Linked DNA regions of Homo sapiens: all the other regions are linked to region 1. Evidence: promoter capture Hi-C in human tissues and cell types (Jung and others, 2019). All regions are on one chromosome and are shown on one strand. Each heading gives the region's core, a stretch centred on a gene start or on the middle of the fragment in contact. The rest is flanking DNA. Distances are from core to core; before and after follow the strand shown.

Evidence for each region. Contacts are between HindIII fragments. The study calls those that stand out against the background at their distance.
Region 2: a contact is called between a fragment that was not itself captured here and the fragment with the promoter of SETX in region 1, in 1 of the 25 tissues and cell types used here (IMR-90 fibroblasts).
Region 3: a fragment that was not itself captured here is called in contact with the fragment with the promoter of SETX in region 1 in 1 of the 25 tissues and cell types used here (dorsolateral prefrontal cortex).
Region 4: the fragment with the promoter of AK8 here is called in contact with the fragment with the promoter of SETX in region 1 in 1 of the 25 tissues and cell types used here (mesenchymal stem cells).
Region 5: a fragment that was not itself captured here is called in contact with the fragment with the promoter of SETX in region 1 in 1 of the 25 tissues and cell types used here (dorsolateral prefrontal cortex).

Annotation. Positions count from the first base shown.
Region 1 is chr9:132,352,555-132,357,609 of GRCh38, reverse strand. SETX (senataxin) reads left to right here and starts at 2,624. Exons shown (of 26, transcript NM_015046.7): 1 at 2,624-2,693; 2 at 3,855-3,961. RefSeq lists silencers at 2,325-2,714, 2,765-2,974 and enhancers at 2,359-2,858, 1,840-3,039, 2,859-3,360. The HindIII fragment of the contact is 18,222 bases long and covers 1-5,055 here.
Region 2 is chr9:132,891,528-132,896,161 of GRCh38, reverse strand. TSC1 (TSC complex subunit 1) reads left to right here. Exons shown (of 23, transcript NM_000368.5): 23 at 1-4,634. Among named protein-coding and RNA genes, the nearest start is that of SPACA9, 15 kb to the right of the region's middle. The HindIII fragment of the contact is 3,205 bases long and covers 272-3,476 here.
Region 3 is chr9:131,644,138-131,649,101 of GRCh38, reverse strand. All of the region lies in intron 3 of RAPGEF1 (Rap guanine nucleotide exchange factor 1), which reads left to right. Among named protein-coding and RNA genes, the nearest start is that of RAPGEF1, 93 kb to the left of the region's middle. The HindIII fragment of the contact is 5,406 bases long and covers 482-4,964 here.
Region 4 is chr9:132,876,249-132,881,170 of GRCh38, reverse strand. AK8 (adenylate kinase 8) reads left to right here and starts at 2,887. Exons shown (of 13, transcript NM_152572.3): 1 at 2,887-2,999. The coding sequence starts at 2,916. SPACA9 (sperm acrosome associated 9) reads right to left here and starts at 2,273. Exons shown (of 4, transcript NM_001316897.2): 1 at 2,157-2,273. The HindIII fragment of the contact is 8,008 bases long and covers 1-4,922 here.
Region 5 is chr9:131,715,522-131,720,196 of GRCh38, reverse strand. The region is part of intron 1 of RAPGEF1 (Rap guanine nucleotide exchange factor 1); the gene reads left to right. Among named protein-coding and RNA genes, the nearest start is that of RAPGEF1, 22 kb to the left of the region's middle. The HindIII fragment of the contact is 3,620 bases long and covers 1,205-4,675 here.

The DNA.
Region 1 (5,055 bases), core at 1,375-3,874:
AGTATTAATTTTCATTTCTAATTTTATATTTACAAAGTCTATTGCAGTGCTTCTGTTTAACATTCTATAGGTTGTGTAAGTTTTGGGCTCAACAATTCCTGAATGCACCTTGAATCAATGAGTCTCAGGACATAACATTGAGTGTAAAAAGCAATTTGCAGAAAAATACATCCTCCATAATTCCATATACAGAGTTAAAAAGCATGTAAAATTTATATGTTGTTCACAGACAAAAAATGTGGGAAGATGATAAGGCCTACAGAGGGCTTCAGGGACAGGAGGAAATTATGACTTTTGTGGGCTCTGGGCACAAGTTACCTTCATGGCACTTTTCTCCATTAAAAAAAATGATAAAAATTATATTTTATGGCCGGGTGCGGTGGCTCAAGCCTGTAATCCCAGCACTTTGGGAGGCAGAGGCGGGCGGATCACGAGGTCAGGAGATCGAGACCATCCTGGCTAACACGGTGAAACCCTGTCTCTACTAAAAATACAAAAAATTAGCCAGGCGTGGTGGCACGTGGCTGTAGTCCCAGCTACTCGGGAGGCTGAGACAGGAGAATGGCGTGAACCCGGGAGGCGGAGCTTGCAGTGAGCCGAGATGGCGCCCCTGCACTCCAGCCTGGGCGACAGAGCGAGACTCGTCTCAAAAAAAAAAAAAAATTATATTTTATGACTGTGGTGGTATAAAGGCTGTGTTGGTATATTAGTGTTATATGATAAAACAAAATATGTTCAAAATATTTGACAGGATGAAGAAGTAGAAAAGAGGAAAATAACGGTCAACGCGTGCTGCTCCTTAGACGGTTAAATTTGCATAACGGCCACCACGCCCTTCCAACAAGCCACGCCCCCTTGCTAGAATCTTCCTTCGCCTTGGGCCTTTCCCGCAGTGTTCCCCTGGGCTTGCTCCTCATCCTCGGGCCAGGGTTCTCCTCGGTAAGGCTGTATCTGACCCACTTTTCCCAAGCTGGCCCATCTCAGCCTCTTTTTTTATCGCCTGAGTCACCACTACTAATTGTTTAATTTCCCTGTCTCCTCTATTAACTGTAAGACGGTGACGCTGCATCATCGTGGTCAGTAGTAGGCGTTACTAAAAGGGGGTAGGGGCCGGGTGCGGTGGATCACGCTTGTAATCCCAGCACTTTGGGAGGTCGAGGCGGGGCGGATCACTTGAGGTTGGAGTTTGAGACCATCCTGGCCAACATGGTGAAACCCCATCTCTACTAAAAACATGAACATTAGCCGGGCGTGTGGCACACGCCTGTACTCCCAGCTACTCGGGAGGCTGATGCAGGAGAATCATTTGAACCCAGGAGGCGGAGGTTGCAGTGAGCCGAGACTGCGCCACTGCACTTCAGCTTGGGTGACAGAGCGCGACTCCATCTCAAAAACAAAAAAGGGGGGGGATAGGCTTTCCAGTGGATTTTACTCATTTTTATTTATTTATAGACTTTTCTGAGACAGGGTCTTGCTTTGTTCCCCAGCCTGGAGTGTAGTGGCACAGTCACGGCTCACTGCAGTCTCGATCTCCCGGTCTCAATGGATATCCACCCCCTGCCTCAGCCTCCCAACAAGCTGGGCCCACAGGTGCTAATTTTTTTTTTTTTTTTTTTTTTTCCGGAGAGAGAGTCTCGCTCCTTTGCCCAGGCTGGAGTGCAGTGGTGCGATCTCGGCTCACTGCAACCTCTGCCTCCCGGGTTCAAGCCATTCTCATGCCTCAGCCTCCTGAGTAGCTGGGATTACAGGCACCCGCCACCACGCCCAGGTAATCTTTTTATTTTTAGTAGAGACGGAGTTTCACCATGTTGGTCAGGCTGGTCTCGAACTCCTGACCTCAGGTGATCCACCCGCCTCGGCCTCCCAAAGTGCTGGGATTACAGGCGTGAGCCACCGCGCCCGGCCTCGGTGGCTGAGTTTTAATTTTTTTTTGTACATACGGGTGTCTCGCTATGTTGCACAGGCTGGTCTCTGAACTCCGGGCTCAAGCGAGCCTCCCGCCTGGGCCTCCCAAAGTGGTGGGATTAGAAGCGGGAGCCACCGCACCAGCGAGGGATTTACTCTGCTGTGTTGCGCATCGCGCGCATTGTTCGCAAGACCTAAGGTCTCCCTTTCTTGTAATATAAAGGATATACACATATTCCTCCGAAATTACACGTTTATGTAATTTACATTTCAGGTCTTTAAAGGAAATCTAAAGAGAAAAATTACTTCGTCACCGTAGTACATCCGCTGAGACACCTGAGGCGTGGAAAAAAGAAGAAAAAAGAGGGAACGGAAATGGCCAGCGGGTAAGGGCTGACCCCACCCGCAGCAGAGCTCATCCCGGAGCCGCCCCACCCGCAGGAAGCCCCGGGCGGGGCCGAGGTCAAGGTTCCGCGGCAAACTCTCCCCGTCCACCCTGACGGGGACTCGGGATTGGTCGGGCCCCAGCTGCCCGGACGTGACGCCAGCGCCCGGCGTGGGCGGTGCACCGCGGCCGCTCTTCCCATGCCCCGCCCCCTGGGGGGCACCAAAACCAGAAAGCAGCGGCCGGGGCGGGGCCTGCGGCCGGCCGACTCAGCGCGGGGGCGGGGCCTACCTCGCGGCAACAGCTGGTTGGTAGCTGCGGCTGCGGGCCCGCACTTCCGCTGGTGGCCTAGAGCGGGGCCCGGTATGGAGGTGGGCTAGAGGCCGACGCCAGCCAGAGAGCGGTGAGGGTAGCGGCGGGCTGGAGGCCGTAGGTCGGGCGGGCGTGAGCGCAGGCGCGGCTTGTGCTTGCAGGGCCGCTTCGGGGAACCATCGCGGCGCCTAGGTCCCGGTGGGCGGATGGGGGAAGAGTCGGCGCGGGCTCGGCCGCTTCCCTCGGTGCGGGGGCGGGAGCACCCCTCGACGGCTGGCGGCCGCCTGTTGCCTTCCTGCGCGCTGGACCCGGCCGCTGCGACCCCCTGTCCTTCCGTTGTCTACACTGCGGTCTCGTGTGAGCTGTTTTTGGTGTGGATACTGCGTAGTTTCCTTGGGGCTGAGCGGGAGGTCTCGGGGTGGAAAGTGTCGGTTCCCTCCACACGCTCGTCTGCCTCTCGCCTGGAGTCCCTCCCTTTGTTTTTTTTTCTTTTTTCTTTTTTTTTTTTTTTTGAGACGGGGTCTCGCTCTGTCACCCAGGCTGAAGTGCAGTGGAACAGTCACGGCTCGCAGCAACCTCGTCTTCCTGGGCTCCAGCGATCCTTCCGCCTCATCCCCCCGAGTAACTGGGACCATAGGCGCGCGTCACCACGCCCGGCTAATTAAAAACAAAATGTGTTGCAGAGACAGGGCCTGGCTGTGTTTCCCAGGCTGAGCTCAGCTGCTCCAGGGATCCTCCGAGCCGCCGCGCCCGGCCGGTCCCTTCGTTTGGAGGAGAGTCTGTTTCTCCCACTTGGAGGGGCTGGAGCTTTTGCTGCTGGCCACAGGACTTTGTCCGTCCTCCCCAACTTCTGGGGATCTAAGGATGTGCCCAGCAATTTGCACGACCCAAGTGAAACGGGGGTGACTGCCTTGAGGGAAAAGAGCTCCACAAGGAGAAGGCCGAGTGTGGTATTTGATAAGTGACACAGCTGAGGATCCTAGGATTGATGTTACCTGCGCGGGCTAATAACTTGGGGGATTTTTGGCTCGGTGCCTAGCTGTCCCCGTGAGTGGGGACAGCCCCTTGTGGAACTGGGAGTCAGAATTGCAGTTCTGCTGTTTCCTGGAAGTCCACAGCCAAGTTGTCTAACCTATCTGGGCTTCCTCATCAGCCAGCAGTATCTGTCTGTAATAGGATCGATACCAGGCTCAGATGGGATATAGAGTATAAATGCCACTTACCAATTTCGTTTTTTGTTTTTTAATTTCAGAAATGTTCTTTTGGGGCCAGAGTCTGGGCATATATGAATGCAAATCCGTGTTTGTTCACAACTAAGCCCAGCTGAGACGATCACTTTTCTGTAGGCCATTTGTCCAGGTAATAATTTTTTTTTTTAGCAGGAGTTCAGAGCACCAAGGTAAGTGCAATGATGGAAACATGTGCAGAGTCCTAAAGGGACAGAGAAGAAGGTCATCAGAGATAGACTGGAAGAGAGGACGGGTCGGACAGGCCCCCCCCCCAGACGTGATGACACTCAGGAAGAGCTTGCACACTGGTTGTTCTCAAATCCAGCTTTCTCTTCGAATCTTAGTGGAGTTCTTTAAAAGGGAAACAATTTTATCCATAGGATCTTTTCTACTTTTTTTTTTAAGTTCCTGAGGTAAGTCTGATGTGTATTCACAGTTAAGTACCGGGCAGAGGTAGGAGGGTGGGTTTCCAAGGCCAGTGGAAGAGCTTCCATAAAGGCAGGGAATACCAGTCACCATGAATGGTTTTAGGAAGAGCAAGTCAAGGGAGGTAAGTGTGGAGGAAAGAGATGATGTGGAAGCTGGATCATCGCGGGCCTTGTGTGTGTTGAGCTCAGCAATTTGAATTTTATCCCAACATTGGAGGAGGAGTCATTTGTGCTTTCGAAGTCCAGTTTGGGGCTTTGGCCTCTGGCAGCATTTTGGAGGAGGAATTGATGGCGATCAAAGAAGAAATAGATCATTTAGGCTTCTTCAGTAATCCAGGCAAATGATGAAAATGTACTGAACTAAGGCAGTGGCGGTTGCACTGAGAAGAAAGTAGAGATGTAATTAAGGGGTAGGCTCTGGAGCTCAGAGATTGCGGCTGAGGGAGAAGGAGCGTATAGGATAATTCCTAGGTTACTGGTTTGAAAATTGAATGTATGGTAATGTCATCAACAAGGGAATATAGAACAAATAACAGATTTAAGGGAAGGACTTCGTTGGGTTCTGGTCATGTTTACTTTGAGGTGCCTGTCAGATATGTGAGTAGAGATACACTGTATGCAGTTGGATATTGAATATATCTGGAGTTCTAGGCTAGGCTGTCAGTTATTGAGTAGGTGGAACAGTGCATCATTTCACTCAACCTCCCCAGTAGCTGCGACTACAGGTGCATACCACCATGCCCAGCTAATTTTTATATTTTTAGTAGATACGGGGTTTCACCATGTTGGCCAGGAT
Region 2 (4,634 bases), core at 625-3,124, 540 kb before region 1:
CTTTCCTGTTTCCAGGGTCTGAGTGCAAGTTCATGTGTGGAAATGGGACGGAGGTCCTTTGGACAGCTGACTGAATGCAGAACGGTTTTTGGATCTGGCATTGAAATGCCTCTTGACCTTCCCCTCCACCCGCCCTAACCCCCTCTCATTTACCTCGCAGTGTGTTCTAATCCAAGGGCCAGTTGGTGTTCCTCAGTAGCTTTACTTTCTTCCTTTCCCCCCCAAATGGTTGCGTCCTTTGAACCTGTGCAATATGAGGCCAAATTTAATCTTTGAGTCTAACACACCACTTTCTGCTTTCCCGAAGTTCAGATAACTGGGTTGGCTCTCAATTAGACCAGGTAGTTTGTTGCATTGCAGGTAAGTCTGGTTTTGTCCCTTCCAGGAGGACATAGCCTGCAAAGCTGGTTGTCTTTACATGAAAGCGTTTACATGAGACTTTCCGACTGCTTTTTTGATTCTGAAGTTCAGCATCTAAAGCAGCAGGTCTAGAAGAACAACGGTTTATTCATACTTGCATTCTTTTGGCAGTTCTGATAAGCTTCCTAGAAAGTTCTGTGTAAACAGAAGCCTGTTTCAGAAATCTGGAGCTGGCACTGTGGAGACCACACACCCTTTGGGAAAGCTCTTGTCTCTTCTTCCCCCACTACCTCTTATTTATTTGGTGTTTGCTTGAATGCTGGTACTATTGTGACCACAGGCTGGTGTGTAGGTGGTAAAACCTGTTCTCCATAGGAGGGAAGGAGCAGTCACTGGGAGAGGTTACCCGAGAAGCACTTGAGCATGAGGAACTGCACCTTTAGGCCATCTCAGCTTGCTGGGCCTTTTGTTAAACCCTTCTGTCTACTGGCCTCCCTTTGTGTGCATACGCCTCTTGTTCATGTCAGCTTATATGTGACACTGCAGCAGAAAGGCTCTGAAGGTCCAAAGAGTTTCTGCAAAGTGTATGTGACCATCATTTCCCAGGCCATTAGGGTTGCCTCACTGTAGCAGGTTCTAGGCTACCAGAAGAGGGGCAGCTTTTTCATACCAATTCCAACTTTCAGGGGCTGACTCTCCAGGGAGCTGATGTCATCACACTCTCCATGTTAGTAATGGCAGAGCAGTCTAAACAGAGTCCGGGAGAATGCTGGCAAAGGCTGGCTGTGTATACCCACTAGGCTGCCCCACGTGCTCCCGAGAGATGACACTAGTCAGAAAATTGGCAGTGGCAGAGAATCCAAACTCAACAAGTGCTCCTGAAAGAAACGCTAGAAGCCTAAGAACTGTGGTCTGGTGTTCCAGCTGAGGCAGGGGGATTTGGTAGGAAGGAGCCAGTGAACTTGGCTTTCCTGTTTCTATCTTTCATTAAAAAGAATAGAAGGATTCAGTCATAAAGAGGTAAAAAACTGTCACGGTACGAAATCTTAGTGCCCACGGAGGCCTCGAGCAGAGAGAATGAAAGTCTTTTTTTTTTTTTTTTTTTTTTAGCATGGCAATAAATATTCTAGCATCCCTAACTAAAGGGGACTAGACAGTTAGAGACTCTGTCACCCTAGCTATACCAGCAGAAAACCTGTTCAGGCAGGCTTTCTGGGTGTGACTGATTCCCAGCCTGTGGCAGGGCGTGGTCCCAACTACTCAGCCTAGCACAGGCTGGCAGTTGGTACTGAATTGTCAGATGTGGAGTATTAGTGACACCACACATTTAATTCAGCTTTGTCCAAAGGAAAGCTTAAAACCCAATACAGTCTAGTTTCCTGGTTCCGTTTTAGAAAAGGAAAACGTGAACAAACTTAGAAAGGGAAGGAAATCCCATCAGTGAATCCTGAAACTGGTTTTAAGTGCTTTCCTTCTCCTCATGCCCAAGAGATCTGTGCCATAGAACAAGATACCAGGCACTTAAAGCCTTTTCCTGAATTGGAAAGGAAAAGAGGCCCAAGTGCAAAAGAAAAAACATTTTAGAAACGGACAGCTTATAAAAATAAAGGGAAGAAAGGAGGCAGCATGGAGAGAGGCCTGTGCTAGAAGCTCCATGGACGTGTCTGCACAGGGTCCTCAGCTCATCCATGCGGCCTGGGTGTCCTTTTACTCAGCTTTATAACAAATGTGGCTCCAAGCTCAGGTGCCTTTGAGTTCTAGGAGGCTGTGGGTTTTATTCAACTACGGTTGGGAGAATGAGACCTGGAGTCATGTTGAAGGTGCCCAACCTAAAAATGTAGGCTTTCATGTTGCAAAGAACTCCAGAGTCAGTAGTTAGGTTTGGTTTGGTTTTGGACATGATAAACCTGCCAAGAGTCAACAGGTCACTTGATCATGCTGCAGTGGGTAGTTCTAAGGATGGAAAGGTGACAGTATTACTCTCGAGAGGCAATTCAGTCCTGGGCAAAGGTATTAGTACAATAAGCGTTAAGGGCAGAGTCTACCTTGAAACCAATTAAGCAGCTTGGTATTCATAAATATTGGGATTGGATGGCCTCCATCCAGAAATCACTATGGGTGAGCATACCTGTCTCAGCTGTTTGGCCAATGTGCATAACCTACTCGGATCCCCACCTGACACTAACCAGAGTCAGCACAGGCCCCGAGGAGCCCGAAGTCTGCTGCTGTGCAGCATGGAATTCCTTTAAAAAGGTGCACTACAGTTTTAGCGGGGAGGGGGATAGGAAGACGCAGAGCAAATGAGCTCCGGAGTCCCTGCAGGTGAATAAACACACAGATCTGCATCTGATAGAACTTTGATGGATTTTCAAAAAGCCGTTGACAAGGCTCTGCTATACAGTCTATAAAAATTGTTATTATGGGATTGGAAGAAACACGTGGTCATGAATAGAAAAAAAACAAACCCAAAGGTAGGAAGGTCAAGGTCATTTCTTAGATGGAGAAGTTGTGAAAGATGTCCTTGGAGATGAGTTTTAGGACCAGCATTACTAAGGCAGGTGGGCAGACAGTGACCTCTCTAGGTGTGTCCACAGAGTTTTTCAGGAGAGAAAACTGCCTGACCTTTGGGACTAAGCTGCGGAATCTTCTTACTAAGCTTGAAGAGTGGAGAGGCGAGAGGTGAGCTACTTTGTGAGCCAAAGCTTATGTGACATGGTTGGGGAAACAGTCCAAACTGTTCTGAGAAGGTGAACTGTTACGACCCAGGACAATTAGAAAAATTCACCCACCATGCCGCACATTACTGGGTAAAAGCAGGGCAGCAGGGAACAAAACTCCAGACTCTTGGGCCGTCCCCATTTGCAACAGCACACATAGTTTCTGGTATATTTGTTGGGAAAGATAAAACTCTAGCAGTTGTTGAGGGGAGGATGTATAAAATGGTCATGGGGATGAAAGGATCTCTGAGACCACAGAGGCTCAGACTCACTGTTAAGAATAGAAAACTGGGTATGCGTTTCATGTAGCCAGCAGAACTGAAGTGTGCTGTGACAAGCCAATGTGAATTTCTACCAAATAGTAGAGCATACCACTTGAAGAAGGAAAGAACCGAAGAGCAAACAAAAGTTCTGCGTAATGAGACTCACCTTTTCTCGCTGAAAGCACTAAGAGGTGGGAGGAGGCCTGCACAGGCTGGAGGAGGGTTTGGGCAGAGCGAAGACCCGGCCAGGACCTTGGTGAGATGGGGTGCCGCCCACCTCCTGCGGATACTCTTGGAGAGTTGTTCCCCCAGGGGGCTCTGCCCCACCTGGAGAAGGAAGCTGCCTGGTGTGGAGTGACTCAAATCAGTATACCTATCTGCTGCACCTTCACTCTCCAGGGTACATGCTTTAAAACCGACCCGCAACAAGTATTGGAAAAATGTATCCAGTCTGAAGATGTTTGTGTATCTGTTTACATCCAGAGTTCTGTGACACATGCCCCCCAGATTGCTGCAAAGATCCCAAGGCATTGATTGCACTTGATTAAGCTTTTGTCTGTAGGTGAAAGAACAAGTTTAGGTCGAGGACTGGCCCCTAGGCTGCTGCTGTGACCCTTGTCCCATGTGGCTTGTTTGCCTGTCCGGGACTCTTCGATGTGCCCAGGGGAGCGTGTTCCTGTCTCTTCCATGCCGTCCTGCAGTCCTTATCTGCTCGCCTGAGGGAAGAGTAGCTGTAGCTACAAGGGAAGCCTGCCTGGAAGAGCCGAGCACCTGTGCCCATGGCTTCTGGTCATGAAACGAGTTAATGATGGCAGAGGAGCTTCCTCCCCACTTCGCAGCGCCACATTATCCATCCTCTGAGATAAGTAGGCTGGTTTAACCATTGGAATGGACCTTTCAGTGGAAACCCTGAGAGTCTGAGAACCCCCAGACCAACCCTTCCCTCCCTTTCCCCACCTCTTACAGTGTTTGGACAGGAGGGTATGGTGCTGCTCTGTGTAGCAAGTACTTTGGCTTATGAAAGAGGCAGCCACGCATTTTGCACTAGGAAGAATCAGTAATCACTTTTCAGAAGACTTCTATGGACCACAAATATATTACGGAGGAACAGATTTTGCTAAGACATAATCTAGTTTTATAACTCAATCATGAATGAACCATGTGTGGCAAACTTGCAGTTTAAAGGGGTCCCATCAGTGAAAGAAACTGATTTTTTTTAACGGACTGCTTTTAGTTAAATTGAAGAAAGTCAGCTCTTGTCAAAAGGTCTAAACTTTCCCGCCTCAATCCTAAA
Region 3 (4,964 bases), core at 1,935-4,434, 710 kb after region 1:
GAGATCACACCACTGCACTCCAGCCTAGGTAACAGAGTGAGACTCTGTCTCCAAAAAATAAATAAATAAAACTAAACTTAGCAATGTAAAATAAAATAAACCTTGTAGACAGATATTCTTAATCCTTTAGTGATTATCCAAAGTATAATTTCTATGTAGCAGAACTACTGTCACAGCCATCCATTTAATGCCGCTGGTAAACACTAGCCTGTTATTTAAATACATAATTCTTGAATTTTGCAGTTCATCTATTTTTGGGTTTTATGTTGACCAGCAGAATATCTTAAAATTTTAGTTAAAAGTGGAGGAAAATAAAGGTTTTAAATCTAAAAGTCTTTTGTTGAAAAGTGGTTTTTCCTGCCCCCTCTTTTAACGAAAGGTGACTGACAAGCAAGAGGGAAACAGTCAGTGTTTGCCAGATTGATCTAAATTCCAGATTGAAGAAGAGTAATACAGTAGATTTGGTCTGTGCCACAGTTATTTTTTATTGCAATCTGTTTAGTAACCTCTTGTAGCCGAATGTAGTATTAACTACAAGTAGAGTGTAATTGTCATCCAACACTAGTCCAGGCAGTCAGAGTAAAATGATTCACTTACTAACAACGTTATCCTGCTAGTGAATTCTGATATGAAACTGTTCGGCCACTCAATTCCTGGGATTTCCCCCCTTTTTGTTGTTTTTGTTGTTTTTTTGTTTGTTTGTTTGTTTTGAGATAAGAGTCTCACTCTGTCGCCCAGGCTGGAGTGCAGTGGAGCAATCTCAGCTCACTGCAATCTCCGCCTCCCAGGCTCAAGCAATTCTCCCGCCTCAGCCACCCGAGTAGCTGGGACTACAGGCGTCCTCTACCACGCCTGGCTAATTTTTGTATTTTTTAGTAGAGATGGGGTTTTGCCATGTTGGCCAGGCTGGTCTCAAACTCCTGACCTCAAGTGATCTGCCCGCCTCATCCTCTCAAAGTGCTGGGATTACAGGCATGAGCCACCGCACCCAGCCGGGATTTTCCCCTTTATTCATTTTTCCAAGAGAGGTCACAGAGAAAAATTCAGTGCTAAAGTACCGCTCATTTAGTGGGGTGCCTGTAAACCCCAGGGGCCATTTGGCAATGTCTGGAGACATTTTTGGTTGTTGCCATAGGAAGGCAAAGCAGATGTTATTGGCTTCTAGTGGGTAGGGGTTGGGAAGCTGCTAAACATCCTACAATACACAGGACAGCCCCCCACACAACAAAGAATTCTCTGCCCCAAAATGTCAGTAGTGCCAAGGCTGAGAAACCTGTTCTGTAGCAGGGAGCTGTAGGTGTGATCTTCACCCAAGAAGGAATGTTACCCCTTTTTCATCATTGCTCATTAGGAAGGGTTGGATGTCTGTGTTCTGTCCCAAGCCACCTGCGTGGGACAAGTAAATGCGAACCTCTTGCTTCGTGGAGGCCCATGGACAGAACCAGAAGCATTGAGAAACTTCCCAGAGTACGTGGACTTAGAGGATTATGTCCAAGAAACCTTGCAGTGGGTCTGTCATCTGCTGCCCTCGTTGATTATTCATTAGCTCTCTTACCACTTAGGGAGTGATTACGTACATTCTTATTTTACTTCAGGTCATATGCATGGCTTTCCCTGCTCAGATACGAGGGAAATGGAAGTGCAGGGAGATGAAAGTACAGATTCAGATTCGCTGCCACTTCCCGAGGGCTCCTTCTCGCCCCAGCCCTGTCCTGGGTGGTTTCAGACATGCTGTCTTATTTACTCCTCACCATAATTGTGTGGGGAAGCTTTTATTATTCCCACTGTGCAGACAGTGTTGGCCCTGGTGCACATTTTCTTGATCAAAATCTGTTTTTCTCACTATATTCTGTTGTCTTCCCAGACTGATTCCACATTAGCAGTCTCTTGCATCTTCTTAGTGAATTTAAAAATTCAAAGTACATTGTGATGAACTTCTAAACTTTTTTGCAACCTTTTAACAAGTCTAGCAGTGAGCTGCAGAGTGTTGAAGTTGTAGAGGAAATTTAGCCATATACTGGGTGTCCAAAGGTATAATTACAATGAGCAGTGAGCAGGGGGTCCTGGGAGGTGTTAATGCCCCATCTCTGAGGGCATTTGGACAGAGATTGGATCCGAGTGCTCTTGGGTGGATTCCTGAAAGCCTTTCCCCTTCAGCTCTTCCAGGGAGATGCTGCTGCCGGACAGCCTGGTGGCAGGTGGTGATTTGGTGCTCTCATTGTAACCAATGTCTGTGTTCGACATGTCTTCTTGCTAGGCCTCACTGTTCTGGACTAATAGGAATAATGTTGCATTGCCATTTTTTTTTTAATCCTGCAATTCTAGTTTTTTATTATACTGATTGTGACTTGCCCTCCCCCTCACTCCCTGGCTTTACCCACATTTTCAGGGTACACTGTCCTATAGTGTGGAAATGAGGCTTATGTTGCTGTGGAGAGGGGAGGCACCCAGGCTGCAGATGGGACAAGGAGTGACAGAGCAAGTCGGGTGTCCCGGCTGCGGCACGGCTGTGGGGAGAGAACTGTCTGGAGAGGAGGGCCAGTTTTCCTCACCCTCTTCCCCGCCATCTCCTGTGGCAGCACATGGCTGTGGAGCCACAGCCTGGGCGTCAGAAATGAATATGGCCCACGGGGCAGGAAAGGCGATGGGGATTTTATGTCCATCTCTGCCATCGGGGTCTTAGTTTACTCGTTTGTTAAATGAGATCTTTTTGACCAGGGGATCTCAAGTAAACTTTTTAACTTCAGCACATTTCTGATCTGGTCTTTATTCTCCTCTCTATCTCTCCAGGCTCTGAACTCAGACAGACCAAGTTCAAATTCCATATCTGTCACTACAGCTGTGTGGCCTTAGGCAAGTTGCTTAACCTCCCCCACGTCCCACTAAGCCTCAGTTTCCCCACCTGTGAAATAATAGTATCCACTTCACAGGGTGGTTGTAACCTTTAAACAAAATAGCCTATATAAAATCCATAGCACAGTGGGTGCCTCCATGTCCCCGATGAGTGGTAGCTACGATCTGGCCTCTTTCTTCCCTTTCAGATGTTCCCATCCTAGGCCCTCTTTCTCTGCTTTATTACTGGCAGGTATATGGTCTCTGGTGTTGGTATAGTGCCTGTTAAATGTTGTGAACCACTTCATATGCTTTCTCATTCAGTCCCCCACAGTCACCTCTTTAGTTACACGGGGCAGATGTTATTCTCCCCATTTTGTGGGTGACAAGCCCAAAGCCCAGCAGTTGGCTTTGTCTCTAAGCCATCCCCAGACACGGACAGCCTCATTTAGTTTCCAGGCTTATGTGGACCAATGATGGCAATCCATCCCCCACAGCAGGAGGGGTGCGCAGGTGAACGCACCTGCCCTCGGGTTATGCAGCGAGGCAGCTTCAGCAAAGCCAAGGCATGGAGTCCCCAGTCCGAGCCAGTGCTGGATGTGGCTGTGTGGCTGTGAACTCTCACTGCTGGCTGCATTCACAAGGATCCCCAGCTTGACAGCTGAAAGGCTGGAGAATGCACAACACCCAGAGGCCATTAATTCTGGGAGTAGAATCTGAGTTCACGGAGGCAGCCTGGCTGTGCTACATTGTTGGCTCCTTTAGGAGGAGCCCAGGACAGCCTGACTCTTAAACAGCTGATTTGATCTCTCTGCAATGACAGAAAAACTCTCTGCTCTGAAGTGCCTTGCCACTTTCGAGTGCCTCCCATCTTCAGATTAGCCACTTTCTCCCTGTGTGACCTGATGACACATTTTCTTAAAATGTTTCCTGTTCCTCAGCAAGTTTCATCATTGCTGGTCTCTAACACTTTCTGATGTGCTAAGGTGGCAGTGTTACTGTCATAGTCCTCTTCTTGCCTGGTTGACCATGGCTTTAGGCACATCTGAGGTCTGTCGGCACTGCGACTCCTTCACACTCAGGTTCCTCCCTGCCCCGGGCAGATGACATGAAGCAGAGAGCTCTTGTCCACGAGGTGGAAAAGTAAGCGCCCAGCCTCTTGGAAACAGACCGTAAACAAATCTGTCAGGTAGTGAAAAGAGAAAAATAAAGCCAGGGTGCAGGACCCAGGGATGGGGATGAGGAAGGGCACTTCCCCCACCATGGGAGAATTGTGTCTTCTAGTCTGCAGGACACCTTGTGGGAAAGACTCAATGAAAGAAATGACTGGGTCTTTTGTGCATTGTCTGACTAAAGTAGCCATTTATATATTTTTCTTTTGACATTCCCATGAAATAAAAGCCTCTACTATTGAACATTTTTATATTTAAAATGATATTCTGCACCTTTTTTTAAACTTTATTTTTTTAATTGAGACGGTGTGTCACTATGTTGCCCAGGCTGGTCCTGACTCCTGGGCTGAAGTGATCTGCCCACCTTGGCCTCCCAAAGTGCTGGGATTATAGGTGTGAGCCACTTCACCTGGCCAATCGGCACTATTTTAGAAGAAAAGAGCTAGTATTCAGAATCATAAGCACTTTTTATTAATTTCTACCATTTGTTTGTCTGTATATTGTTTAAATCACCTTTTTCTAGAAATTATCTTCTTGCCCTCAGTTTTTATTTATATCCTCTAGACCTCTGAGATCCTGCAGGTGGCTGTTTGCCTCATACACACCCCTCTTAATTTGCACTAGACATGTAATCGACTACTTGAGTACACTGTCCATTTTGGGATTTATCCATTCTGTAGACTACTCTTTTTTTTTTTTTTTTTAAAGGACAGCCTCCCAAACCAGAACAGGTTCAGAGACTCCACTTCTGTAGATTACTCTTAGCCTCCTTTTCCTGCCAGCCAGCTGAGACCTGGATCATTGACATCAGGGCAAGTAGAGGGGAAGTTGGAGAGAAGAACAAAAGGGGTGTGTAGACCCACCAACTGGATCCAAGGCCTCCCACGGTCAGGGAGAAAAGCTTGGGGTTGTGGCTTAAACACTGGAAAGCGCAGGGCTCTGTATTTTCCCTTTCTCTCA
Region 4 (4,922 bases), core at 1,638-4,137, 520 kb before region 1:
TAGAAGCATGAGCTGGCAACATCAGAATTTGTAAAGAAAAGATTGCTGGCTGGGCGCGGTAGCTCACGCCTGTAATCCCAGCACTTTGGGAGGCCGAGGTGGGTGGATCACGAAGTCAGGAGATTGAGACCATCCTGGCCAACACGGTGAAACCCTGTCTGTAATAAAAATACAAAAAAAGTTAGCCGGGCACGGTGGCGGGCGCCTGTAGTCCCAGCTACTCGGGAGGCTGAGGCAGGAGAATGGCGTGAACCTGGGAGGCGGAGCTTGCAGTGAGCCGAGATGGCGCCACTGCACTCCAGCCTGGGCGACAGAGCAAGACTCCATCTCAAAAAAAAAAAAAAAAAAGATAGCTGCACCTTGCCATACTGAGGCCTGAGGCAAAAGGAGAAATCAGTAACACTGAGCCTACCTTTACTTAAATTTTTGACATGTTATTCTAAATGGATTTTAGGCAGCATTATTTTTGATTTTTAAAATATATTGCATTAAAACGTGAAAAACATCCACCTCAATGATTGAATTGCCGGCACTCCCTTAAGTTTTGTGCTGAGGGTGCATCACTTGCCTTGCCCTAATGTTGGCCCAGGGCTTACAAATGACTCAAAGGTGAAGCTCCAGAAAAGTGAGAGAGAGCACATAGGTGGAGTTCCAGGGAGAAAGGGCGTGTGCCCTTTCGGCCTGGCTTTTCCCTCATCATGGTGGGAGCTGTGGTTGGTAGTGGTTGAGAGGAACTGACTCTGTTCTTGATCCTAGCAACTTGTGACATGCACGCCAGGAATGTCATGAGAGGAGCTGTAATAAGCTATCCGAAGTGATCGTCCCTTGAACGAGAGCCACTGCAGCCAAATTAGTGTGGATGAAGGGCACAGGGGACGGGCACTTCTCGATCTGGGGGAGGAGGGAGGAAAAAAATGATTACCCATAGGTTTTAGGCTTTAATTGATTTGTATTTTTCCAGGCTGCTAAAGAAGATTGAATCATGGTAGGAAAAGCGCCTAGGGCTTAAAATAAATGAGGAGAAAGGCAAGTCATTTCAGAAATGTCCAGGAAGCAAAACAAACCTCTCCAGTGCAAATGGCAGGCATGGCTGTTGTGTTCTTTGCTCAGGGGGAGGCAGCTTCCTTTTCTTCCCCAGCTATCTTTACAGTTGGGTTTGACAAGCCTACCAAGGTGTACACACTTTGAGGAAGCGGTTTGGAGGGGAAGAGGCAACAGTGCTGGCTTTTACGTTGGGAGGGCATGTCTCTGGGCTGATGGCTGGTAGAAAAGGGCTTTAGCTGGAGCCTGGATGCAGAGTTCATGCCCTGGCTCTGCCCAATCTAACCAGTGGCCCTAGCCAAGATTTCCCCCTTTTCTGGGCCTCAGTTTATCCATCTGTCAAATGAGAGAGTTTGGATTAGCCTCTTCTTCAAGAGGCCTTCTGGTTCTAAGGCTGTATGATCAACAACTGATGAGAAAAGAAGCCCAGAAAGGGGAAGTGACTCACCCAAAGTTACCCAGCCAACCACTCCTCATTGTTCTAATCCTCCAACTTCTCATCTGTAAAATGGGAATGAAGGTGCCTATTTCACAGGATTGTTGGAACGATTAAATGAGATACTACTACTAATAGTAGCCCCATATATTGTGTGCTTACTGCATGCCAATTACTCTCCAATACATTAGCTCCTGAAATCCTTCAGCAGTTCCCTCTTCACAGGGCAGGAAAGTGAGGCACGGAGCAAGCAGAGAGTTTGCCAAGCTCACACAGTAAGAAGCGGAGCCAGAACTTGAAGCTGGGGCTGTCTGCATTGACTGTGCCATTTTCCCTCTCCATAAGGTACAGAGACAACAGAATTTTGCCGAGAGCACAAAGAGTTCAACAAACTCTTACAGCTCCTACGATTAACGGCAACAGACAAGAGCTAGAGATCCCAATTCAGTGTTGCGACTAATAAAATATCAAGCTGCCCCGTACCACTGGGAATTCATACGACTTAAAAAGCTCCGTCTCCAGCGCGAACCTTCCCCTCGCCCCCACCCCGAGACAGCTGTGCAGGCCCCTCCATCCTCCGGACCCCTCCATCTTTCCATCCTCCACCCCAGCTTCCAGTTTCTGACCCAGAGGCCGGGGTGGGGTCCGAGTGGGCCCACCCACACTCATCCCTGTTTACCCTTGCTTGTCCTAGAGCGCTCTTCGCTCCACGGAGCACCCAGAGAAGTTGGAGTGACTCCGTGAGTGTCGGTGCCCCGGAGGGTGGGGAGGCCCGTTCCAGGACTTGGGAGGCGAGGGTGGGTGGGGACGTCGGGCGAGAAGGGGCGGGGCCGCGGGCGTGATTGTTACCGCCGGTGCCATAGCAATCGGGTCACTTGGCGGCTTGGCCAGAGCCGGGGAGCTGGGAGGGGTCTACCGGGGCTCGACTCTAGGAGTTGGGCTGAGGATTTCCACCCGATCCTCGAACCTCCGGCCCATCTCATGGACGCCCCTCCCCCTTCAAACACCCTCCCCCACATTTATTCCCGCGTCTGTTTTAAAGATGGGTAAACTGAGGCACAGGGAGCCGGGCCGGGGAGCACTGACAGAACCAGAAGCAGGTTCTGCCTCCCGTCCCCTCGGAGGGCCGACTTGCCCCTTCTGGGTTTCGTCGGGGGTCTCAGATACGAGGAGGCCCAGCTGGAAGCCACCTGAGGGTGTCCCCCGCTAAGATGCGCAAATGGGAAAAGCGAGGCCGGGGTTGGGGAAAGAACTTGCCCGAGCCGCAGAGCGCGTCAGCCGGGGAGGTCGGGGCGGGGGCGACCCGCGCGACCGAGGATCGGGTATCTGGGCCCGGCGCGGAGCCTGCAGGGCGGGGCCGCGGCGCGTGCTGATGACGCAGTCGGCGCGGCGGCCCTAGCGACGCGGTTACTAGGGAGCGGCGAGCCGAGACGGCTACATGGACGCCACTATCGCCCCGCACCGTATCCCCCCCGAGATGCCCCAGTACGGGGAGGAGAACCACATCTTCGAGTTGATGCAGGTGACCGGACACCCCTGCCCGTCGCGACGCTGGCGGCGGCTCGGGAGCCTCCACTGCGACGTCGGGTGCGCGGCCGGGACCCGCAGCTGGGGCCGAGTCGCGCGCCCACGAAGCAGCCCAACTCGGGATGTACGATTCGTGTGTCGCCGTGACCCCGAGGGGGCCCTCGAGCTGGGGACGCTCCTGGTCCTGCCCGGGTTTGCCTCAGGCGGACCCAGGGGGAGGAAGGGGGCCACTCGAGCCGGGATTTGGTCCTGGCTGTGCCGCCAGCGGGCCTTATGGTCTGGAACCAGTCCTTTCCTTTTCTCGGTTTCCCCACCTGTGAAATGCCAGGTTGCAAGAGGTGGTCTCCCAGGGGCTCTCCCGGCGCTGACAATTACCATCTGTCGAATTTGTGGGGAGCCTCTCGGCCCAGGTTTCTGAGGTGGGCATTGTCCGAGTTCAAGCTGGCATCTCCATCCTCAGAGAGGGCCGCCTCTGGGACAGCAGCATCTCCCACCTTGGTCCCTCCTCCTCAGGGCCAGACGTCCCCGGCAGCTCCGAAGCTCTCATTCTGGCTCCAGGCCTGACTGGGCCCCCAGCTCACCGTGTGACTTTGGGCGAGGCCCCGTCCCCGCCAGGGCCCCAGTTTTCCCTTTTGCACGTGGTGGAGGTCAAGGCTTTCAGGAGCTGGAGGGGAAGAACTCTCAGCCACTCAAAGGTTCTGAGAGGCAAGGGGAAGCTGGAGCTCAGTTTTCAGATCATTTGTCTGCTTCCCAGGGTACACCCCATCCCCAGGGGCATGGCATGGAGGGCATAGTGGTGTCTGTGGTCATTTGAGGTTCTGCCCTGCACACTAGACAGCTGAGCCCAGACGAAGAAACCCGTGTCTGCACCTCCATCAAACACATTTCCCTCGGAAAGTGTTAACTGATAGAGGGAGAGCAAGAGATTCCTAAAACTGCTTGAGTGGCCAATCACAAATCAAATAGCTAGCTGGGTTAGAAGTCAGCAGGTCAGGGCAGGATGGGGGATCATCTGGAGCCCTGTTGTCTGCTCTAGAGAACCTGGTGTGTTTTCCACATTGATTGTTGGAGGAATTGCCCAGGAAAGCTTTTATTGATTTTGAAACAGGGTCTTGCACTGCTGCCCAGGCTGGAGTGCAGTGATACAATCATGGCTTACTGCAGCCTTGAACTCCTGGGCTCAAGCAATCCTTCTGCCTTAGTCCCTCCAGAGTAGCCGAGACTACAGGTGCAGGCCACCATACCTGGCTAATGTTTTTTTTTTAATTTTAGTACAGACGAGGTCTTGCTATGTTGCCCGGACTGGTCTTGAACTCCTGGGCTCAAACAGTCCTTCTGCCTCGGCCTCCCAACAAGAAAGCTTTCAGTCCAGTATTTCCAGTCCTTAGTCATCTGTGGATTCCCTCCATGTTTTTGACCATTTCCATTTTTTATACTTTTGATTTTAAAATAATGTTAGATTCACAGGAAGTTAAAAAATAGTATGGATTTCTGGTCTCCCCTCCCACATTGCCCCCGTGATAACATCTAACATAACTGTAGCACATTGTCAAAACCAGGAAACTGGCATTGGTACAATAGGATTACCTGAACTGTAGGCCTTGTTTGGATTTCCTCCATTTTTACCTGCATTGATGTTTTTGTTGTGCATACAGTTCTGTGCAGTTGTATCACATGTACAGATTTGCATAACCGCTACTGCACCTCCATTTAAACTAATCACTTGTTTAAATCAACTCACCTTTTAAAAAATTAAATAGCCGCTTTTGCCTCATCCTAAGTGATATCCTTGAAATTATTGATTTGATGTACTTATATTTCTAATACACGTTAAATACACAATGATTTAAACATGAAATGTAAAATATTTATGTGTGAACCATCTAAAATCATCTCATTCCATCATCGCACCAGTGAC
Region 5 (4,675 bases), core at 1,765-4,264, 640 kb after region 1:
CTGAGGCCCAAGGCTGGGCACGGTGGCTCACGCCTGTAATCCCAGCACTTTGGGAGGCCAAGGTGGGCGGATCACCTGAGGTCAGGAGTTTGAGACCAGCCTGGCCAACATGATGAAACCCTGTCTCTACTAAAAATACAAAAATTAGCTGGGTGTGGTGGCCCATGCCTGTAGTCCCAGCTAATCGGGAGGCTCAGGCAGGAGAATCGCTTGAACCCAGAAGGGGGAGGTTGCAGTGAGCTGAGATCGTGCCACTGTACTTCAGCCTGGGTGACAGAGTGAGACTCTTGTCTCAAAAAAAAAAAAAAAAGAAAGAAAGAAAAGAAGAAAATATAGCTGTGTGGGCAATAGTCAGATGAACTATTCCCCTAACTTTGCCCCAATTCGGTGTATGACTATGTACAAATCTTAACTCTTTCAGATCTCAAAGAAAAGCTCTGTGTCTTAGTTTCCTCCTCTGTAGAATGAGAACAGTAACAGTATCCTTCTCTTATCGTGAGGATCTAATGCAACCACGAGAGTAAAATACACAGAAAGGAGCCTGGTACTGCATGGGCTAAGTGCCTAATGAACATCAGCTTACTACTATCTCTCCGGGTGACAGAGTGAGACTGTCTCAAAAAAAAAAAAAAAAAAAAAAAAAGCCCTGAAGGGTTTATGTGACTTGTCCAGCTGGGTTGAAGAGCTAGGTTGAAGCCGCTGCCCAGTATTGAAACAAACCCTTATAAAATAGAGAAGTAGCTTAATAATAGCCCCAAAAAGACATCACAGACTGAAGACTTTTCTAGTAGTATAAGTACACGTGAACAAGAAAATGGTGACACTTCTGCTTCCAGTTCATGCTTCTTGTCAGCAGTATTGCGAGGGAAAAACAACAGTGATCTAATGAGCCCTGACAAGAGATGGCCAGAAGCTGAGCAGTTGGGAAGAAAACTCTTTGGTGAATCTCACTCTGAATGTATATTGTGCCTTGGGATATTAGCTGATTAATTTGGATGACATATTAGTCATGATAAGCAAGACATTTACAAACTAAGCATCCAGAACGTGAAAACTAAAATTTTGCCAAGCACCGTGGCATGTGCCTGTAGTTCCAGCTACTCTGGTGGCTGAGGTGGGAGGATCACTTGAACCCAGGAGTTCAAGTCCAGCCTAGGCAACATGGTGAGACCCTGTCTCACACACACACACAAAAAGCCACAACCTCTAAAATTTAAATTATATCTGAAGTCACGCAGTACTCCCATGAGTAATTTTACAGCATCAAGTGTACGTGCTCTGTAAAGGGTTTCATCTCAGCCTTCTGTTTTGGGCTCTTCTGTCTCCTGAATTGCCATTTGGGAACAGGCAGCCTAGTCCCGTGGCACTAAGCCAGCTAGCTAAACACTGGTCCTTCTCAAATGCATGTTTCCAGCCCCTCTTTAGGACATTATGCACCTGAACCAGAACTCTTGGTTCTCCCCTTCACTCTCTGCCTGGTAACTCACCTTGGGTTCCCCTATCACAGTAAATAATGCCATTTTTGATCCGATTGTTCAGGCTTAGAAATCTTGGTTTGGATGAGAAAACAATGAGGGTGTCCTTGCCTCCTCTCTCCCAGCGCACATCCAGTCCCTCGGTAAACCCCTGCGATTTACTCCAATAAATCCTGACTGGTCCTTCTTAGTACCTCCTCTGCTGACCCCTTACTCCAGGCCACCGCCGTTTCTCCCTGGACTGCCCCATGCCTTCCTAACCGGCTTCTTGGTTTCTTCTCCCAACTCACAGCCATTCATTCTGCATTTCACAGCCAGAGTGTGAACTGGATCACATGGATCCTCTTTATGATTGCCTGGGGCTTCCCCACACATGTGAAGCGATCCGAGGTCCTCGACGTGGCCTGTGTGCGCCCTGGACTCTGGCCCTTAACTCACTCCCTGACACCCCTCTCCCCGTCACTGTGTCCCAGCCACACTGGCTTTTGTGCTCTTCTTCCAGGTGTTCCTTTCCCTCAGAGCCTTTGCACTTGCCGTTCTCTTACTGGAACATTCATTCCCCAGATATTGTAGGGCACCTGCTGAGAAGCCATGGACAAGAGCCACGGTTTAAAGGCTGCTGGTGCCACCGTTTGCTGATCATGTGATCTTGGGAAAAGTTGCTCACCCATCTCCTTTTAAAAATCAGTTTCTCATTGATAAGATGGATCCTGCGGTAGGGTTTTGGTGAGTTCATGCTGGGGAGTACTCGATTGGAAGAACTGGGCAAACATGAGTTCCTCTTCCTGTGTCCTTTGCTCCCTATCCCTAGCTGCCTCACATCTTTGTTCAGATGCCACCCAGAGAGGTCAGCCCTAACCACTGGGCCCAGAATAACAGATAGGGTGCGCATCACTTTCTGTCCCTCATCCCCCGCTCTTTTTCCCCCTTTAAATGTAGCCTTTTTTTTTTTTTTTTGAGACAGTCTCACTCTGTTGCACAGGCTGGAGTGCAGTGGTGCAGTCTTGGCTCACTGCAACCTCTTGGGTTCAAGCGATTCTCCTGCCTCAGCCTCCCCGGTAGCTGGGATTACAGGCATGCACCACCATGCCTCGCTAATATCTTGTGTTTTTAATAGAGACAGGGACCATGTTGCCAAGACTGATCTTGAACTCCTGAGCTCAGGCAATCTGCCTGCCTTGGCCTCCCAGAGTGCTAGGATTACAGGTGTGAGCCACCGCGCCTGGCCTATTTGCTTCTTTTTTATGATATTTTCCCTCATTGGGAGGTAAGCTCCCTGTCGGCTGCTATTTCACCAGAGCCCAGAATGGTGCCTGGCACATAGCTGACGCTCACTAATTTTTGTTCAGTGGATAGTGAGTACCCATTGTGTATGGACTCCACACCTCTTAAGGGAGACAGGTGCATTTTTACAAGCTTGAGGAGCACAGCCAGAGTGCAGGCTGTGACCGTGTTCATCCTCATGCAGCTCAGTGCAGAGGGCCATCAGCAGTGAGTGGCTCTGTCAAGTTTATCTGGAGGCGGGGAGTTGTAAAGGGCAGAGGCATCACAGCCTGGAGGCTGAGGTCAGCGGGCTGGCCAGGAGAGGGGCTGGAGTCTTCCCCAGTGCGGGCATTACCCCTTCCAATACTGCCATGGTCCAAGTGAAGCAGAGGCTGTGGGACCCGAGGCTGTGGGACCCTCAACACTGATCTTTGAGAGTCCACTGGATGTTGGCTGTGAGGTTTCCTTTGACTCGCTGGAGAGGAGGGACAGGAGCTACAGTGCAGGCAGGCAGGTGCACGGCTATGCACAGTGTCCAGTCGCCGTGTGAGGAAGTGGGAGATGAAGGTGGGAAAGGTAATTTGGGGCCAGACTCCAAAAGGCCTTGAATGCCAATCCACGTACTTAGGACTTCTACCTTTAGTATTACAGGAAGCATCGAGGGGTTTTTATTATTTTATTTTTTTGAGACAGGGTCTGCCTCTGTCACCCGGGCTGGAGTGCAATGGCGCGATCTTGGCTCACTGCAACCTCTGCCTCGCAGGCTCAAGCCATTCTCTCACCTCAGCCCCCCGAGTAGCTGTGACTACAGACACACATAACACAATGCTTAGCTAATTATGTTTTTCCTTTTTTTGTAGAGACAGGGTTTTGCCATGTTGCCCAGGCAGGTCTCAAACGCCTGGGCTCAAGTAATCAACCTACCTCTGCCTCCCAAAGTGCTGGGATTACAGGCATGAGCCATAGTGCCTGGCCACATCAGGGGTTTAAGAAGCATTCTCCTTACATATTTAGACTTTCCACCAAGTCTTCCAAATTTCTCCCTTTCCCATACTGAGGGCTACGTTTAGTTCCTGGCCAAGTCCTGACTTTGTAAAGAACAACAAGTAAACAGCTTCTTCAGAAGGCTGGATGCTGAGCCCTGATTGCCCTTCAGTGAACCAGCCTCATCCATGAAGCTTCTTGAAAAGCCAGAAACTGTATCATTGGGGGGGTCCTTGAAATCTGAAGCAAGGGACAGGTTCTGAGCCCCTGTGTTTTGCAGATTAGGTTGCACAAGAAAGATGGGCTGGTGACTTTGCAGTTCATTTCCGTAGATTGTCCTTCTAGGCCTGCCTGGATAGAAGCAGCCTCGTGTGGGATCCAGCAGCAGTGGCCAGTGGGATGGGAGCCAGCATATGTAGTTGTTGACACATCCCCTGCAGACGTGGGTCGGCGGGCTAGCTGTGGGAGAGCACTGCAATGGGAGTCAGTGACTTGGGGCCTCTAGCCTCCTGTGAAAGGTCTTTTTTCTCTGGACCTCAGTTTCTCCATTTTATTGTAATGAGTTGGGCTAGATCAGTAGTTCTTAACCTCTTTTTTTTTTTTTTTTTTTTGAGAGGGAGTCTCGCTCTGTCACCAGGCTGGAGTGCAGTGGTGCAATCTCCACTCACTGCAACCTCCACCTCCCGGGTTCAAGTGATTCTTCTGCCTCAGCCTCCCGAGTAGCTTGGGAGTACAGGTGCTCACCACCATGCTCAGGTAATTTTTGTATTTTCAGTAGAGATGGGGTTTCACCATCTTGGCCAGGATGGTCTCTATCTCCTGACCTTGTGATCTGCCCACCTTGGCCTCCCAAAGTGCTGGGATCCTAAGTACAGACGTGAGCCACCGTGCCCGGCCATTCTTAACCTCTTGAAACTCCTTAAGACTTTGGTGAAAGCCATAGACCTCTCTTC